2 separate regions of the Homo sapiens genome follow, and region 2 is linked to region 1. Evidence: promoter capture Hi-C in 16 types of primary human blood cells and fetal thymus (Javierre and others, 2016). All regions are on one chromosome and are shown on one strand. The core of a region is centred on a gene start or on the middle of the fragment in contact, and the rest is flanking DNA. Distances in the headings are between cores, read along the strand shown. Region 1 holds the start of RNF13 (ring finger protein 13). Region 2 holds the start of CCNL1 (cyclin L1).

Region 1 (7,172 bases), core at 1,545-4,044:
AGATAGGAGGATCCCTTGAGCACGGGAGGTCGAGGGTGCAGTGAGCCATAATTGCTCCAGCCTGGGCAACAGAGCAAGACCCTGTCCCAAAAAAAAATAAAAAGGAAACAACTTACTATCTACCACATCAATGACTGTAAGAACCACCTGAGATATTATAAAGCACTTAGAATTGTATTTGGCTCATATTAACCAATCAATATTAGCTACATTACTGTTTTGTTGTTGTTGATATACTATGCTATATAAACTTTGACAATACCAATCATATGCTGTGTTGTTCCCAAATCAACTTTTGTGTAATGTAAAAGATTCATAAAAGTTTAATATTTTACTTTTATATATGCTCAATAAATATCTATAGAATACATACATTTTTGAACAATGACTCACCAGTATGCTTTATTAAAAGGAATTCGCTTCTAATTTTGTTTCCTCTTTTGGGAAAAGTAACAATGCTTACCAACTTTCTTCCCCTTTTTATGTCATGTGAAACTATCATATGCAATGCCATATGGTAAACATGACAAATGGTGCAAAACACTGTTTTGACTGAAACTCATTTGCCTCCTGCTAAACATCAATTCCCAGATTTAAAAATATTGTTATTTAAATGCCAACCATTTCTAGGTCACACCTACATGAAGTAAGCAAAACATACCATGATAGTTGACCAAACTATTTCATTTCATACATCTCTTATGGCAAGAACTATAAGGCATAAAATGCCTTCCTAGCCAACTTAACTCAAAGACATAAATCTATCCCTTTAGTCATACCCTCAGGCCTACCCTCACTTAGCTAAAGTTAGTGCCTGTAAAAGTTCTGATAAATCTACGTTATTCTGGAATGCAGAAAAATATCAAGGGAAGAAAGCTGAATGCTAGCAACAATTTATGCCCCTCCAAAATTATTGAGAAAATTAGCTTTATACAAGCATAGATGAGAACTTATCCCAAACCCTTCAGTATTATACCTCTCAAACCAAGATTCTGTCTATGATTTGCATTACACATAGAGACAAGATGTCAAGCTGCCTAGCTTCAAACAAAGGCAGAGGTTAAAAAAAAAAAAACTAATAAAACAGTTCTCATTCCCTACATAGAGAAAAATAACTGTGCCTCTCTCCAACAGTTTCCAACAAAACAAAAAAAAATTATGTAATAGACAAATTTTGTTTCATTTAATCCTCATAACAACTCATTTCTTATTTACGGAAAATGTCACAGAATTAGTAAATGGCAGAGCTGAACCCAGCTTGACTCCCAAATTTGGAATTTAGTATTTTGAAACATTTGTTTTTGCCATAATCCATAATACACTTTACATTTCCATCTTCCTCTTGACACACACATACTGTTAAAAACTGAAACAAAAGCTTCTTGCCATAATATTTACTTTTATTCCATACAATGTCCTCTGGTATTTTTTCTTTCTTTATAAAGCTTATGTCAATGTACTAAATTGATTCTAAAATCTATTAATGAATCCTTATGGGCCCTGCACTACAGCACTGCACTACACTTCCTGCACTACAGCACTGCACTACACTTCTTACCTCCTGTTTAAAGTTCTTTTTAATTGCTATCACTGTCCAGTTTTGTTACTTCGAGATGGAGCTAATGTCCACCCATTAAAAAACTGTGCTTAAATAGCATAAACTCTTGAAAGCCCTACCTTAAATCTTGAATTGATCTGTTTCTCCAGAAGAACTCTTTGGAGGCACAGCCACCTTACTTATTTATATTGTATCAAAAACTGCAGATGTTCTCCTTGGAGAACAAACACATCATTGTTGAAAGGAATGCATCAGTTTTCACTGTTTCTGCTGCATCACTGACGAACAGTAATAGCCGGGCAGGTTTGGGGCAACAAGAGAGGACCCGAGCAGCTGCCCACGGTGCTGAAACTGATGATGAAACGACAGTTTTGGAAATTTACTATTTACTATTGTCAGATTAGGACAAAATAGAGGAATTTACCAGACACTGGCAGAGAAAACTGAGTGGCCGCCACCAAAGTTGCATGAGTGCTTCCGGGATACTGCTGTTTGGCTTCGATGTCTGCCCACTCTCTCTTTCTCTCTGGGACAAAGTTATTTAATAAGTGCAAGTCAAGTCAAGTCAAGCATACAGGCAGAGCTGCTGACTGACCGTAGTATCTGGCCCTAGCAGGGGTTAAGTCCCAAACCTGCAATCTGAGCTTCCAGGGAAAGAAAAAGGGGGTGGGGGTAAAAGAGAGGAAGTGACTGCCCTCCTTCTATTCAGAGACAAAACAGCCCCCTCAACTAAAGTCAAGCGATGTGCCCGAGGACGTTGCGGCAGGTACTTGACCAAGAAAAGCCTTCCAAACATGTTTTCCAGGCAGGCTCTTGCAGCCTCAAGAAGGGAATGAGAGAAGCAAAACCGGTAACTCAACTTTGGACACACACAAACTCGCGGAATGAGAGTGCAGGGGAGACTCGGTCCCCCGAGGGCAAGGCTATTTTATTCCTTTTGCAAAAAGCCTAATTGACTTCTCACCCAGCTCTAGAGGAGCAGCAAAGACCTCAGCAGCAGGGCCGACTCCGAGCTCGAGGGCCAACAAGCGGGGTATGTTCTCTGGGCCGCTCGATAACGAGCTGCCCGGCTGCCGCGAAGCCGGACAGGGTCTTACCTTGAAGTCCGGCCCCCGCAACACAAACAGTCTTGCCAGCCGCGTCGCTGCGGGAGAAGTCCCTACCCTGATTTCATGACTGAATATCCGCACCGACCCCCACAGCCCGGAGTACTAGCAGGGACGACAACACCTAGGCGAAGCGGAAGTCCCGCCCCACGCGCCTCATTGGTCCGCACCCAAAGGCACAGAAAACCCACTGGGCAACATGGTTGCCTGTTAAGGCTCTTTCCCACTCTCACGCGGAGTCTCGCTACTTGCTCTAGCCCGGCTCGGAGAAATGCCCAGTTTGCGAGTCTCGTTCTTGGCCGCGTGATCCGTCTTCCCTGGAAGGGAAGAGCAGGGTGGGGCAGGCGTCTGCGGAACTGGAGCGCGGCTGAAGAAGCTGCTCTTGGCAGAGGAAGGGGCAGGCTGGCAAAGTGGATTGGCTGTGGGCGCCTGCCGCTAACCATGTGCCCCTAGAAACGGAGACCGTAGGGTCTGGAGGGCGCGGGACCGAGCGGGCAGGGCCGGTCGGTCTGATCTGCTCCGGCTGTTGGGACAGAGTAGCCCAAGATTCGGCTGCCGGGCTGCCCCCGGGCGGGCCTGGCCCTGGCGCTGACGCGTCTCTTCCCTGCACACTACACTCACCCGACCTACTAAAGAGGCGAGGGCGAGGCCTCATCCGCCCGCCTTCCGTACCGTGCCCAGTCTGAGATCAGAGTGGGTGGGGACCGTGGCCACACCTTAAAGTAGGGCTCAAATTGTTAGAGATGCGAGCGGCCCGAGGTCTGAACGCCAGTCCCCTGAGGCCTGGCTCGGATCCACGCTGGCATCAGCACTCTGGGCCTGACACGCGCCATCCCCGGGGCTTAGCAAAAGTCAAACCATGTGATTCAGGCCCTAGGTCAGCCTTTTAAAACCCTTGCCTCCTTTTGATGAACCAAAAATCTCCTCCCCTGCCGCCCTTCTGATAAGCCTTCCTTTCTGGTTGTCTCAATCTTAAACCAGTCGAAACTTAAATTACCGGATTGTACCATCCACATTGATTAATCATTGCCAACTCGCCACCTTACAAAAGCAGTGTGACTTAGGCAAATATTACAGAGTCCTGAAAGAAATGTCAGGAGACATAGAATCAGGCACTACTTCTGCTTCAAATAATAAGGCACCCTTAATAAGGCCTTTACAGGCTTCAACTCCTTCAACATCATCTTTTAAAAATGGTGGCGAGGAGGCTATCACACAGAGTATTAGTAGAATACCATTGGATGTAACTTGTCACTTTGATTGCTTGGAGAGCCCTGAGTAGGTGGGACACAGCAATGGGGAAAAGACTCTTTCCTTATTGTGTATCCTTTTGTGCCTTTTGAATTTTGAACCTTGCAAATATTACCTACTCAAATAAAATTCAAATACAAGAAATTTAAGATCAAATTTTAAAAAATTAAATAAAAGCTATCAAAGGTACTTTCCTCTTCTGTGTATCCTATGAGTATTCTATGTAGTCTTAACTTTTCATTGGTTGCAAAGACATTCAATACTTAAATCACAATTCTGCCTTTAAGAAAGTCATAAATAAAAGTCAGCATTGGGAATATTACTAAGAAGACTAATTAGTATAAACACATTTATAATATCTCTATAAGCATTTTTTTCATTAAATTATCCCAAATTGGTATATTAAATCAGATTTCTTGCATAACATCAAAATAAATTTTTTTAGGCCGGGTGCGGTGGCTCATGCCTGTAATCCCAGCACTTTGGGAGGCCAAGTCAGGCGGATCACTTGAGGTCAGGAGTTCAAGACCACACTGGCCAACATGGTGAAACCTCGTCTCTACTAAAAATACAAAATTAGCCGGGCATTGTGGTGCACACCTGTAATCCCAGCTACTTGGGAAGCTGAGGCAGGAGAATCGCTTGAACATGGGAGGCAGAGGTTACAGTGAGCTGAGATCCCACCACTGCACTCGGGCATAGGCAACAGAGCAAGATTCCATCTCCAAAAAAAAAAAAAAAAATTAAGTCCACAGAGAGGAGCTTTGGGTTTTGTTGTTTTATTTTTATTTATTTTAGAGACAAGGTCTCACTCTGTTGCCCAGGCTGGAGTGCAGTGGTGAGATCATGTCTCACTGCAGTCCAGAACTCCTGGGCTCAAGTAATCCTCCCACCTCAACCTCTGGAGTAGCTAGGATTACAGGCATGTGCCACCAGGCCTGGCTAATTTTTTTATTTTTTTTAGCCTTACAGTCTGGCTATGTTGCCCAGGCAGGTCTCAAACTCCTGGCCTCAAAGGATCTTCTTGCCTCGGTCTCCCAAAGTGCTAGGATTACAGGCATGAGTCACCACGCTCAGACAAAGAGCTTTGCTTATTCCTTAAAGGCACCTTGAGTACAGAATATTTTACTTCTGGTTTCAACCTGCTCTTCAGATAACAATAGGTATAGTTCTCTCAACTATGAACAAGGTAATGTGTCATTTGTACTGCATTTAGGCTACACTCTGCAAAAACATTTACTCTCCCAACCTGTGCTGAAAAAGGTAAATTGGAAAAAAATATATTGGAAAAATGTATTAATCTTTCTAAAGCAGATTAGACAGTAAGATTGACAGATATCATAATTACAATTTTCAAGAACATGAAGGGTTAATAAGGCACGTGATACTAATATACCACTAATTATCTTTTTAAAAATCAAAATGTGCTTTTAGGGTGTTGTATCTAACAGGTTTTTTTTTTAAACCTTCCTAAAAAGTACAAACAGATAGCACGTAAAAGTAATTGTAGAATCTCCTGCTTCCAAAATATTGTAAGGCAACAACAACAAAAAAAGACAGATACCCAATTATGTAATTGTCTGAAATGGCTTAGAAATAGTTCTCCCTAAATACCAGAAAGAATGCAGGCTGTCTCCTTAAGCACAGAGATTAATCAGAAACCTTAAACAATTCTATATATTATCATATTTAGAAACAGAAAAAAAGTAATTTTAGAATCAGAAAAAAGGTATTTTCATTTTGAAAACAAAATAAAATTATTACTATTAAAAGAAAGAATAAGATCCATAAAGAATTTATATGTGTATGAAATAAGCAATTTTGAAAAGTACCAAACAGAATTTCTACAAATAGCATCAGGGAACTTTTAGCCAAAGATTCTAAAAGATTCTAATTTCTTTGCCAAGTTCCAAATTAATGAATGGGTTCATTAAGTAAGATAAAAAGTGAAAAGTTCAGAACCTAAGGCGATACATATCAGTCAGAGGGTTTTTCAACAAAGTTTATCCAATTTATTTTCAAGGAGTTGAGAAAGATCAGGCAAAAAGAGGTGTGCTTAATGTTCAATGCCTTAAAAATGATCTAGTCATTGTTTTATGTGGGATGAGTTACTTCTCTGTATATCTGAGATGACCAACATGCAAATTCAACTTTTCCTTTGCACACTGAGAACCAGTTTTCCTCTGTTTGCTAACAAAGGAATTACAAAATAAGCATGCAAAAAGTCATATGACATAATGCAATATAAAGATGGAAGAAGTCATTGGGGTGTGAACTGACATAATCACATTAGCAAACAATTTGAAATTGTCTAGGGAGGGTGAAAAAGAAAATTTTCTATGACATAGCAATTCAATCCAAGGAATATACCCTAAAGAAACACAAAATAAATTCATATTTAGGCACATTGTAATAAAATTTAAAGAGGATCAAAGAAAAATAAAACGTTTTAAACAAACAAAAAAAGATAAAATACTTACAAAGGAGTGACAGCTGATAGCTGAGTTGTTTTTTTTTTTTCCCGAGATGGAGTCTTGCTCTGTCGCCCAGGCTGGAGTGCGGTGGTGCGATCTCGGCTCACTGCAAGCTCCGCCTCCCGGCTTCATGCCATTCTCCTGCCTCAGCCTCCCGAGTAGCTGGGACTACAGGCACCCGCCACCATGCCCGGCTAATTTTTTGTATTTTTAGTAGAGACGGGGTTTCACCGTGTTAGCCAGGATGGTCTCGATCTCCTGACCTCGTGATCCTCCTGCCTCAGCCTCCCAAAGTGCTTGGATTACAGGCCTGAGCCACCGCACCCGGCCCAGACTTCTTAGTAGCTACAAAAGAAACTAAAAGTGAGTTAAATAATATCTTCAAATGCTAAAATAAAATAGTTACAACTGTCAGTTTAGAATTATATGCCTAGTTAAGCTGTCATTTAAGAGTGAGGGCAAAATAAAGACATTTTTAGGGAAAATCAGCTTTTACCACTAACAGACTTCTACTAACAGAACTTGTAAAGAATATCTTTAGAAAAATGAAAATCAAACCCAGAAAAAAGAGATGCAAAAAAAAGTATGGAGACCAAAGATATTGAGTATGATTTCCAAACCAGTAGACATAAAAAGGGAATAAAGGAATAAAGAAAACAATATGCAATATAAAGCAGAAAAGGAGAGATGGGAAGAAGCAAATAAAAGGTATTTTAAATGGCAAATTCAAAATGAGATGGAATAAGTGACATCAGCAAGATGGTGAAATAGGAGCTCTTTACT
Region 2 (7,172 bases), core at 1,042-3,541, 7.3 Mb before region 1:
ACTTTCCCCAATGATAATATCTCACACAACCATAGATTATCAAAACCAGAAAACTGACCAGGCACAGTGGTGTGCCACTTATAGTCCCAGCTACTCAGGTGGCTGAGGTGGGAAGATCCCTTGAGTTCAGGAGTTCAAGGCCAGCCTGGGCAACACAGTGAGACCCTGGCTCTATAAACAAAAATGGAAGAAAACCAGAAAACTGGTGTCATCAATTGTGTTTAAGGAAACCGAGGCTCCTTTAAAAGTTTGTTATAAAATTATAGATATCTCATAAATATTGAGGTGGAAAGATTCCCTGGAAGCAGCCTAGTCAGAAAGTGAAGACAGTGACATCCAGATAGGTTAATACTTCTGCCAGCACCATAATTACACTCTCTTGGCTGTACATTCCAATCACTCGAAGACAGGCAAAACTGAACCACTGGCTGGGCCCACCTTAAATCAGTGACATCAACCTCTGCAGGCAAGGCTCAAGTATCAGTACATTTTAAAACAACTTTGCCCACTGAAGGTTCACTTAATCAACTGATAAGGCCGGGTGCGGTGGCTCATGCCTGTAATTCCAGCGCTTTGGATGCCTGTAATCCCAGCATTTTGGGAGGCCGAGGCGGGCGGATCACCTGAGGTCAGGAGTTCAAGACCAGCCTAGCCAACATGGCAAAACCCCGTCTCTACAAAAATACAAAAATTAGCTGGACGTGGTGGTGTGTGCCTGTAATCCCAGCTACTGGGGAGGCTGAGGTGGGAGAATCGCTTGAACCCCGGAGGCGGAGGCTGCAGTGAGCCGAGATCGCGCCACTGCACTTCAGCTTGGGCGACAGAGTGAGACTCTATCTAAAAAAAAAGAAAAAAAAAATCAACTGATAACAGGCGATTAACAGGAGAAAAGGGATACATAACACCGGGGTAAAAGCAGGAGGATGATTACCCAGTAGCTTAATGGAGTACAGAAGATTTTATATCTTTTTTTCATAGGGGAAAGGGTAGATGAGAAATGTAGACATTTATTTTGAGGAGCAGCAAATGATTATTAGGAACAATGAATGGACAGAAATTAGTAAATAATTTTCTTTTGAGTAATCTTGTGAAAAAGTCCCTCCAGGAATGGCTGCATTTCTGAGTCTTTTTGAAATAGGATACGAGATTTCAGCGAGGGGAGGAATGCGATTGATTCTTCTACAAAGAGGCTTCTCTAGTCAGGAAAGGAAATTTCAGAGAGTACCTCCCTGCACTTGGGAAAAGTGGGAGCAACAAGTCAAGGTTGGGGGACCTGCATTATGAGGCAGCTTCTAAAGCCTCTGTCTTTGGGGTATCGCTTTCTGAGCGTCAAGAGTAAAACGTGATGCATTCCTTTCCTTCCAACCTAGATTCTAGTAGTTTAGATCAGTATCATTGTTTTTACTTCAAGGTTCAGGAAACGCTGGAAATTGCTAGCTAATATCACAGGAAAAAAAACAAAAAACACGAGGTTGACCTCACCCTACCCGCGGTAGGTAACCATGTATGAATAGAGACTCCCAGGCATAATCAAATTACCTCTGTCAAGTCCTCGCCCTAAGACTATTTTTGGAAACTAGGGATTTTCCAGATTACTGAAAGCCGTGGCGGTGTCAAAGGCCGGGCAGGAGTTTCGCAAGCGGAGCTATGAAAGCAGCCACTCTCGCGGTCATTCCTATGCCTCCGCCCTACTTCCCCATACTGGCAAAAACACGCTCCCCGGGGAGCTTTCATTTGGGAACCGATAGGGTCCACAGCCCTGTGTTCTTCAAATACTGTAAAGCAGCCCTCTCCAGATTCCTTGAGGGTCACTTTATATTACACATTCGTCCACACAGGACAACAAAGTCACCACTTCCACCCGCCAAAGCGCGCTCAGGTCGGCCGCCACTTCCCTTGGTACACGCGGAACGCAAGCCGCGCCGAGGCTAAAGGAAGAGGCCGGAATGCAGGGCGAAGGGGCGCAGAGATGCTAGCCAATGCTGCCACCTCTATTTTGGGTATAAGGGATCTTGTAAAGCTCCGTTATTCGTGTGGCTATCACAAACAAGGTGGTTTCGACCGGCCTTGGCTAGAGAAGGCCTCCTCAGCCTCTGAGGATCCCAAGGTCTGTCGCAGCACCCAACACTCCCCTCGCAGGCCCAGATGCCGAGGGCGGAGGCGCGGCCTGGAGGGACTAGTTGGCGCGCGGCTGCCCGGCGTGGTGACGTCAGGGCGGAAGCGCACGCGGCGTGAAGCGGCCCAGAACCCGGCGGTCACGGGAATATCCGTCGCGCCGAGAACGCTGGTTAGTCTTGTTTCGGGTTCCGGCTGCGTTGGGCTTGCGTGCGGCTCGCTAAGACTATGGCGTCCGGGCCTCATTCGACAGCTACTGCTGCCGCAGCCGCCTCATCGGCCGCCCCAAGCGCGGGCGGCTCCAGCTCCGGGACGACGACCACGACGACGACCACGACGGGAGGGATCCTGATCGGCGATCGCCTGTACTCGGAAGTTTCACTTACCATCGACCACTCTCTGATTCCGGAGGAGAGGCTCTCGCCCACCCCATCCATGCAGGATGGGCTCGACCTGCCCAGTGAGACGGACTTACGCATCCTGGGCTGCGAGCTCATCCAGGCCGCCGGCATTCTCCTCCGGCTGCCGCAGGTCAGTGCTCCGGCCCCGGGCCGGCCGGGCGCTCCTCTCCTCTCCTCCGTCCCCTACGCCGCATCTCAGTATCACCGTGCCCCGGGAGGGTGGGGACGGTTCCTTCAGGCTTTCCCGTTCGGGGCCCAGCCGCGGCCGGGGCGTGCCGGGGCGGGGGGCTGCGGAGGCGGAGGGAGGACTTGGCAGCGGGCTGTTCGCAGCGGCGGCGGCGGCGGGAGGGGAAAGGGAAGCGATCGGCGGCACAAAATGGCGGCGGCGCCTGGAGCGGGCCCGCCTGACCCCTGCGCTTCCGTTCTCCTCTCTTGTCTGCAGGTGGCGATGGCAACGGGGCAGGTGTTGTTTCATCGTTTTTTCTACTCCAAATCTTTCGTCAAACACAGTTTCGAGGTAAGCACAGCGGAGGCGGGTAAAAGGGATTTCTTCATCCGGAAATGGGCAGAGTAGGGGTAGTGTCAGCAGCCAGCTTTTCCAGAAAGGGAGTGGTTTAGTTTAGGCCTTTGTACCTACTTCTCACTCGCCAGGAAGTGGAAACCTTTAGAATGTGGTTCAAAATCGATCACGAGCCTAAGTGCCCTCTTAACGAAAAGTACAGTTTTCAACCAAATGCAGAACTCCTGTAAGATTGAGTTTGACTCTGGAACCAAAATTAAGATGAGTTAAACAACAAAAAGTATAGTACTAGCATAGCTGGTAGACTTACGGCATAGAGATGTCTTCTCTAATTTTACTAAAGGTTGTCCCAATTGTGTTCTAAATTTTATTCTTCAAAGTGAGTTTAATCTAACAATGGCTTTTGTGGCTCATGGGTTCTTTCAGATTGTTGCTATGGCTTGTATTAATCTTGCATCAAAAATCGAAGAAGCACCTAGAAGAATAAGAGATGTGATTAATGTATTCCACCACCTCCGCCAGTTAAGAGGAAAAAGGTAAGATTGGCATTATTGAACATAGTATCTCTTGCTACTGCTGTACCGTGCACCAGTCATCAAATCAAAACATCTTTCCTTTCAAGTGAATACGGATGCAAAAGAAAACGGACTTTAATTTAGGTGTTAAAGTTCATATAGGAACACTGATACTTAAAATAATTTGAAAAAAGAAACATAATTAACCGGTTATCTAAAGTTTGTAGAGGCAGTTGCATTTATGGACAATCCTAACAGTGCTGTGAAGCCAGGCCTGTGGCTTAAGATTAAACAAGAAAGGGAGTACATTTGGCTCAAGTGTGAGTGTATTCTGTAAGTTATTTTTCCTCTCCCCTCTCTGGAAGACTGAAGGCTGGAAGTTTAAACACTGTAGTTTAAGTTAATATTGTGGCAAAGTTCTGTGTAGATTATGTTTTTCTACTCGAAGTCCCAGTTAATTCTTTATCAATTGAGGTTGGCTTTTGTTAGAGTACTTCTCAACATTGAACTACGATAAATCGAATAATACCGGATCTGAAAGGACTGCAGGATGATAAAGTTTGAAGTTTGAAGTCAAAGGGATTAAACAGGTATTTTGTTTTGGTTAGATACAGTCTCAGTGAGTGGGTTAGAAAATTAACAAGTAAGATTGATTGGGTTGCATTTAGATAGGGCCATTTATTTGATGTTGTAAGAAAATACAGAGACTGAAATAGTATCTCCTAGGTGTTGTGGTAACATAATTTTATGTGGACCTATGTGTTCCTGTGAGGCAGTACCAAAAAGTTTGTTGCAGGACTTCCTGCATCTACAGGTGACTTCCAGTACATGCTGCAGAATGATATATTTGGTGTAGAATAGTTTTTGCATTCACTCTTTAAGGAATTGTAGTGATGTTAGACAAATTGTACTGAGTTTGAAAGGAAGTTATTAAAAGGATTATAAGTTGTTCTGGGGGTTGGGTATGTTGGTTAGTGCTGTTAGTATTCTATATGAGTAGTCCTTATTGGCTGAATCTGTAAGTTGGCAGTAATGGAACTATTCAGACAAGCAAATATTAAAGCAACTTTAAGATGACTAGTCTATTCTGTGAGTCTACAGACAGTTCTTTTTTAAAAAAAGAGTATCCTAGTCAAAAAGTCTGCAACAGTTTTCCTACATACTTTTTCTCCCCCATCTTTTCTCATTCACCTTAACTGTGTCCAGGGATAGAGTACTTTTTAAATTCTAAAATATCTTTTAGTTTGTTGATGAGTCCCTGGGAATTGGGAAGATTTCAAATTGGTCTTTGGTATGGTCTGAGGTTAAATCTGTATTTAGATACCTGGCTGATTCTTCAGGATGTTTAAAGTAATGACACTAATACAAGGCTCTATCTTTAGTCAAAGGTTTCTCTTTGCTTAAAGGAAATGGTTTTCTAGTATTCTTTGAACCATTGAGCCAACTATTATGTAATCACATGATTATCTTCTGTGGAATTTTCCTGTGAGACTAGTTTACTTCGTTGATGTTAGAATAGGTCTTAACTGTAAAAACCATGGAATTTAAAATAATATAATCTCACCTGATTGTTGTGTCTGATGTAACTTTGTTTTTTGGGTCATTATTACAGAGAAACTGATTTTGTTTCAATCTTAGAAGTCTGATTATAGCAAAATTTAAAAGGAGTTGTTAATTGCATGGAAGCCTTTTTTTAAAGCAGGATGTAAAAGTGTTTCTATGCATATTACAAGTTTACTCAAGCACGTAACTTGTATATGTTATTAACTTCAACTCTTTTTTCCCTTGCAACCGACTATACAGCGACCAGCTACATTTACCAAAGCCTGGGTGATGTGGAGTGGTACATAGAGATGAAGCTGTCGTCATGGCAACAGTGAGTGAAGTATCGAAAATCCCCAAGGAGAAGCCAGTGCTCTGAGAATAGGTCACTGGAATCGGGGACTAACAGGTTGGCCACTGGTGAACCATTTAGAAAAACTCCTGTTTCTTGTTATAAGCTTTTGTCTTTGCTGTCCAAGTTATTAGAACTATAGCTTTGTATTTATTTTTGCATAGGTTAATGTCATTAGAAAGTACTATCAGTATTATACATTGGTTAGGTAAAGCATATCACTTGTCTTAATGATGCTATTTGTTTTAATCTAGTTTATTCATAACTTTAAATTGTAGTGTGACTTTGACAATTACAGTGGAGATACATTATTCATGTTGCTTGTAGGTCATTGGTCTCTTCAGCCTGGCTACACATTGAGAATTAGCAGAGGAGCTTTTTAAAAAGTACCAGTGCTTAGTCCCCAACCTGGATTGTTTGGCCTATTCCTCCTTCAGTTTTTTGTGGTTCGATAATTATCTTTTAAGTTGACAATAAACAGCTAAATTTAGAGGGGGGATTGCTTTTTCATTGTTCTAGTTTCCAAATATTTACTTTTGAGATGCAGCGTATTAAAATTTTCAAAGACTGGTTTAACCATTCTCATTAGTAAATACAATGTATTTTCAGTGTATCCATAGATAATAAAAGTTGGATAGGTAAGAATTGGAAGGGTGTTAAGTGATGTCATTTAGTCTACCACCTTTCTACAGTATAATTCTGTGGCTCTACAAGGTGGCCTTCAGTTTGTTTAAATACCTATAAAGGATGTTTCTACTTTTAAGTAGGCATTACAAATTTTTGTATATTGCTTGGCAGTATGCCTCTTTGTAAACTACCAATCTGTTATAGTCTCTTGAAGACTTGGTTCCAATATTTCTCAGTCTTTGTAACACATAAATGAAACTAACCATGTTTGGACTTTGTAATTTTTGTTGTTGTTGAGTTATATGTCAATTACATAATCATGCTAAAGGAAAATAGCTCCTCTAACAAACCATAATAATAAACTTCTAATGACCAAAGACCAGGATTTTCTAAAGCTGAAAATAATTCTCGTATAAATCAGAAAAATTGGACAATAGAAACTTAAAGCAGAGATTGAGTTAGTTTGTGTGTTGATAATGAAAATTATTTTTGAGTTTTCTCTGAATAGATGAAGACTTCTTTTTTAAAGAGATTTTCAAATGCCACCTCCTCAAACTTTATTGGCAAAGAAAGTTTACCTGATTGGGGAGGAAGAAATTCTAGCAGGCCTTAATTTAATGTGCTTGTTGCAACAGAAGGTACTAATGTATACTTTGAGACTTTGTTTACTGCTGATTGATGGAGATATATTTTTTAAATTTATGATACAAAGTAATCTCTACCAGGTAGTTGTAAATTACGTGTGCACCGTTGATTTGTGAGGTAGAACCAATTCTGAACAAAATAAAGGTATCTGGTTTTAGGTTATATACCCACAAAGTTAACTTTGAAAATTGCAGGTAATAAATAGCAGGATTAAGCAAGAAGTTAAGTATATATTGAATTATAGTAAATAATGGGTTTGGTTTTCTTAAATCTATTTTGATGTCATTGGCATTTTGACACAAAAACAAAGAAAATGGCATCATTAAGTCTGATTTGGGACTAAATAGTAGCTATAATTCAAACATATTTAGCTTCTTTAGTGTAATTGCAAGAACAAATGAATTATATCACCATTTGAAGGCAGTTCTTAAAGCAGGTTATCTTAAGAGGTATAG

What was found. The method cuts DNA at HindIII sites, captures the fragments that hold promoters and counts their contacts. A CHiCAGO score of 5 or more calls a contact.
Region 2: a contact is called between the fragment with the promoter of CCNL1 here and the fragment with the promoter of RNF13 in region 1, in 1 of 17 cell types (neutrophils). The highest score is 5.1, in neutrophils.

Annotation. Positions count from the first base shown.
Region 1 is chr3:149,808,837-149,816,008 of GRCh38, reverse strand. RNF13 (ring finger protein 13) reads right to left here and starts at 2,794. Exons shown (of 10, transcript NM_183381.3): 1 at 2,656-2,794. RefSeq lists enhancers at 2,951-3,060, 2,926-3,437 and a silencer at 3,271-3,420. The HindIII fragment of the contact is 6,716 bases long and covers 1,448-7,172 here.
Region 2 is chr3:157,155,266-157,162,437 of GRCh38, reverse strand. CCNL1 (cyclin L1) reads left to right here and starts at 2,291. Exons shown (of 11, transcript NM_020307.4): 1 at 2,291-2,646; 2 at 2,959-3,033; 3 at 3,463-3,572. The coding sequence starts at 2,344. RefSeq lists enhancers at 1,430-1,489, 1,510-1,559, 1,647-2,376, 3,010-3,079 and a silencer at 2,660-2,869. The HindIII fragment of the contact is 11,903 bases long and covers 1-5,553 here.